2 separate regions of the Homo sapiens genome follow, and region 2 is linked to region 1. The links are contacts of gene promoters, found by promoter capture Hi-C in blood cells and fetal thymus (Javierre and others, 2016). All regions are on one chromosome and are shown on one strand. Each heading gives the region's core, a stretch centred on a gene start or on the middle of the fragment in contact. The rest is flanking DNA. Distances are from core to core; before and after follow the strand shown.

Evidence for each region. Contacts are between HindIII fragments. The CHiCAGO score rates a contact against its expected background, and 5 or more counts as called.
Region 2: a fragment that was not itself captured here is called in contact with the fragment with the promoter of HTR1B in region 1 in 1 of 17 cell types (endothelial precursors); the score reaches 5.2 in endothelial precursors.

The regions. Positions count from the first base shown.
Region 1 is chr6:77,462,225-77,464,765 of GRCh38, forward strand. It overlaps HTR1B (5-hydroxytryptamine receptor 1B), which reads right to left and starts at 1,267. Exons shown (of 1, transcript NM_000863.3): 1 at 1-1,267. The coding sequence starts at 1,179. The coding sequence ends at 7. The region is part of intron 5 of LOC105377864; the gene reads left to right. RefSeq lists a silencer at 133-277. The HindIII fragment of the contact is 3,027 bases long and covers 1-1,651 here.
Region 2 is chr6:76,662,070-76,664,610 of GRCh38, forward strand. It overlaps the pseudogene LOC100131680. Among named protein-coding and RNA genes, the nearest start is that of LINC02540, 70 kb to the left of the region's middle. The HindIII fragment of the contact is 484 bases long and covers 1,036-1,519 here.

The sequences.
Region 1 (2,541 bases), core at 17-2,516:
GGCAAGTCAACTTGTGCACTTAAAACGTATCAGTTTATGGAATGCTTGTTTAAAGTCCTCATTGGACATGGTATAGATTATGGGGTTGATGAGGGAGTTGAGATAGCCCAGCCATGTGAAGAAGTCAAAGATGGCTAGGTGGAACCAGCAGGCATCTTTGCAGATAGGCATCACTAGGGAGATGATGAAGAAGGGTAGCCAACACACAATAAAGGCTCCCAAAATGATCCCTAGGGTCTTGGTGGCTTTGCGCTCCCTAGCGGCCATGAGTTTCTTCTTTTCCAGCAGGGCGTCGGAGACTCGCACTTTGACTTGGTTCACATACACAGGAGATCCGGATTCGCTGGGCACGTCGGGAACCCGCGAGTTAATAGAGGTGACCGAGGACGTGGACCCGGGGGAGTCGGTTATCAGCTGGGCTCGGGTCAAGCGCTTGCCGGTCCTGTTGGGCGTCTGTTTCAAAATCCGGGAGCGGGCTTCTACGTAGATGCGGCCATAGAGGGCGATGAGGAGCAGGGTGGGGAAGTAGAAAGCACCCACCGTGGAGTAGACCGTGTAGAGGATGTGGTCGGTGTTCACCACGCATTCCGACACCTCCTCTTCGGCCTTAGCCTGACGCCAGAAGAAGGGCGGCAGCGAGATAGAGATGGAGAAGACCCACACCAGCGCGATCATGACCGCCGCCCTCTTGGGAGTCCTTTTAGCTGAGTACTCCACGGCGTCCGTGATGGCCCAGTAGCGGTCCAGGGCGATGACACAGAGGTGCAGGATGGAGGCAGTGCAACAAGTGATGTCCGACGACAGCCAGAAGTCACAGACCACCTGGCCCAGTGTCCAGCGGCCGGTGACAGTGTACATGGTGCTGATGGGCATCACCAGGATGGACACAAGCAGGTCGGTGACCGCCAGAGAGGCGATCAGGTAGTTAGCCGGGGTGTGCAGTTTCCGGGTCCGGTACACTGTGGCAATCACAAAGGCATTGGAGAGCGTGGTGGCCAAGGTGATGAGCGCCAATAGCATAACCAGCAGTACTTTCCAGGGTAGGGAGATGGAGTCCTGGTAAATGTAGTCCTTGGCGCTGCAGTTTTGGGAGGGAGCAGAGGATAAGTTGGCTTGAGGAACCCAGGTCTCGGAGCCCGCGGGCGGCGGTGGAGCGCACTGAGCACCCGGTTCCTCCATGGCTCTCCTCGCCCCAGCTCCGGAGCGCAGCTCTTGGGCATGGAGCGGACGAAGGAGAGGGCGGAAGGACCGTGGCGATCGCAGGTTTGTCCCCAGTTGATAGTTCCGTGAGTTCCTCAATTATTCCTCCGCCCAGGTTCACAGCTGAAACTAGAGGTCATGGGTGCGGCAGCCAAGGCAGGCGGGCGCCTCCCCTGCACTTCCAGAGCGCCTAGCTAAGCCGCCGCGTCTGTGGTTGTTCCTCTCCACACCGGGTCTTAGACCTGGGTTGCTAAGAGCTGGCCCACCGAGCCCTGCTCCGCTCCAGCTCCCTGGAGGCGTCTAGTGCAGGAGGGTGAAGTACTGCTTGAGGAGAAGGCTTTGACCAAATGGGATCTCTTACCCCAGTTGCTTGAGGCTGAGCGTCTCCTAACCTGGACGCTTTTGGATCTGCAGACTTTGCCCACAGGAGTTTCCTAGGTGTAGAGACCAAAGCTTGCAGGCCAGCGAGAGGTCCCGAGATCTTGCATTCCCACCCCTCGCCCCAAGCTGGGGCACTTTTGGGGGGCTGCAGCGGCCGCCAGAGCTGGGTGGGGTGAAGTCTAGGAGCAGCGCTGCGCCGCGCCTCGCGCCGGAGCTCTGCCCTCCCTCTCTTTTCACTCTCTGGCCACTCGGACGAGCTGCCCCGCGGAGACGGAGCCATAAAAGGGGGGACACGGGGGCTGGAGTTGCGGCTGCTCGGGCCGCGCCGCCGCCACCGCCACCCTGGTCCCACGGGAGCCACTCGGAGCCATGCCACTGGGTGCGCGGGTCTGGAGGACCTGGCGCGGCACACTGGGAAGGGGCAGGTGTCTGGGGGAGCTGGAGGGACGCGGCGTGCACCAGCCCGGGAGAAGCGTGCGAGCTACGGAGCAGATGGGCTCTTTATATAGAGTCCAGGTCCGGTCCGCCAGAGCAGTGCAACTCGTGCGGCGCGGCGGGTGCGGACGCCCGCTCCCCATCACCTTCCCTTTTTCTCTCTCCCTCCCTCTTTTCCCCCCGCCCTGTTCCTTTCCTGGCCAAGGAAGCTCCCGCCGGGTCCTACCGCCCTATCTCCCCGCTTCCCACCCTGGGCCATCCTCCCAGCCCTGACAACCTGGAGCTGCATTTCTGGTCAGGGGAAGAAGGCGTCCTGTTCTCGCCTCTACGGACATCAGAGCTTGCTGCGCTGACCTCCAGTGAGACCCATGTCCTTAGCCATGGTCACAGGTTTAGTCCAGCAGTCTGGCCCTAGGCTCCTGCCTACCACTCCCACCCTAGGAGGCCAGTGTTAGGCGGGGAAGCCCTGGTCTCTGACCTCTCCGCTCTAAAATCATATCCAGCCCTGATGGCCACACCCAGGTT
Region 2 (2,541 bases), core at 28-2,527, 800 kb before region 1:
TCCATGGACAAGAGGGCAGGATGCTTTTGAAATTTTAGTGGACCTTGTGAAAGCACTTATTTTATGTTGGCATGGTACAAATAGTGACACAAATATCAGATGCAATAATCGTATAGCTGCCCAAGCATTTGTACCCTGAAGTACAGTAACAGATTTTGATTTAATTGTTACCATTGTTGTTCTTTAAAATGTCCTATTTTTTTTTTTTTTTTTTTTTTTTTACAAGAGACTTTTGGAAAAATCTCTAGGGGCAAACCTCTGAGGTCTTGTCTGCAGCCAGTAGCTTGACTGCAATACTGCAGTCACTCAGTAAAGTGACAGAAAAAATTGAAGTTTATAATGAGTTTTGGTTTGAGGAAGCCACAATATGACAATCCAACTTGATGTTCAAATGAAATTCCCTGGGAAATTCCACAGAGCTCAGCAAGGTAACCTGAAATTCCAACTACCCTATGAGAGTTTTTATAAAGAAAACCTGTGTTCAACAGTGGAGCACATTATTCAGGAACTTAAAGACAGATTTTCAGAACAGCACCTCAAAGCTCTTAAGTGCTTATCTCTGGTACCCTCAGTCATAGGTCAGCTCAAATTTTACACATTAGAGGAACACTATACTGGCATGTATAGAAGTGACTTACCCCATCCCAGTGTGCTCTCAGCCAAACTGCATTGTTGGGGAATCAAATGGAAAGACAGAGGGAAGAGTGTAGAGCTTCCATCCACCATTTATGAAACTCTCCACTTGACTAAATCAAGTTTTTTACTAATGTGTATGCATTGCTGAAGGTCCTGTGTATCCTTCCTGTGATAAAAGTTGAGAATTTTTATCAACATAAAATGAAAATGGACAAAAGCATCTCAAAACATACTTGAGGAACCCTTTGACAGACCAAAGATTGAGTAACTTGGCTTTGCTTAACATAAATTTTGATCTAAAGCATGATCTGGATTTAATGGTGGACACATATATCAAACATTATCCAATTAAGTCAGAATTCCCCACAGATAATTCAGAAATCATTACAAATACTGAAAAGCTTCTCTAAACGGGCTTTATCTTACATTTGATATTTGGAAGAAAAGCTGTAAGTTGTATGCAGGTCACTCAATCACTGACTATCTCTGCTGATAGGCCTCCCATTGAATACATTAATTACTGATAATCTTACTATTTAAATGGCTCCTGCTTGAAATCTGATGCTTTGAGGACCTATTTTTTTCTTCCAGAAGCTAGCATTGAAAACACCCTGTTTTATGTCTGCATTATCTCTGCTACTGGCACTCTGGAATTGTTCTAGTTAAGTCATTTTGGGTATAACATTTATTATCATTTTGGATTTGATTCTTGGATATTGAGTTATCAATTCTTTGAAGAAATATATTTTGGGGAAGTGTGGGAGTAAGGATTACATCTTATAATATGTTACAATAAACCTCATAATTGACCTTTGACTAATAAGGATTTCAGGTATGTTGTTAAAAATCTGTAATTGACAGTTAAAGAATTACCAGAGTGAGAAGCTTGTGAGATCAAGAAACAAGGATTTTAGTGCAGGTTTTATCTTTAGTAAATGAACTTAAGGGAACAAGTTACAGTTAAAGTTGAATGGAAAAGCCTGCCGTTGTTGTTCCACATTTGGTTGTTACTGTTTATATTTCTTTGTTGAACCTACATCTTCATATGCTTTTTAGCAGGTGTATGTATAACACTTTCATTTATGGTCAAGGCAGAATCAGAGGCCGTGAATACTGACAACTGACTTGTCTGTTTTCTTCTGTCTTTTTCCATGACTATATCTTCTGCCTCATCTTGATTTATAAGCAAAAGCTGGAAAACTACAAAAATAAGTGTTTTTTATTTTATCTAGAAATATTATAGAAAATATTGCTATTTTTGAAGAAAATCAATTTTGTATAATTTATTTTAATCTAAATGTAAATTTTGTTTAAAAAGTATTCTGTATATTGTTTTTTATTATATGTATGTATTTAGCAAGTGATATTTCATTTATTTCACCAAATAGGTTCAATTAAATTAAACTCTTTTCTTCCTATTTAAAAAATTGCAAGTGGGAAATGTCACACACACACACACACACACACACACACACAGAGAGCTCGAGCGAGCGGCAAGCTTTATGCTTATGAATTTTTTGTTAAACAAGCCCATCAGGAATTTCCTTGGCAGTGCTTTGGCACATTATCTTCCCTACCCACTTATGAAAATCATCTATAAATACATCTATAACTGCATTGCTGATTCAGAAAGAAGTCAAATAAATCCTCAAAAGGGAAGCATATAGTGAAGATCATTAATCTAGAGTTGGGTGAGCAAGATTCAAGTCCCTGACTGTTCTAGGGAACTCCATTTATCCATGGTTTGTTCCATGAGCTTCATTTATATGGCTGCATAGGACTATAGAGTCAAAAGACAAAGCCTAGGTCCTGCTATGTCAGAAGTTTAACAAGAGAACCTCTGCATAAAGTCAGACCAGCGATGGTTACACCATCTGTAAAATAATCAACAAGGAGTAATTACTC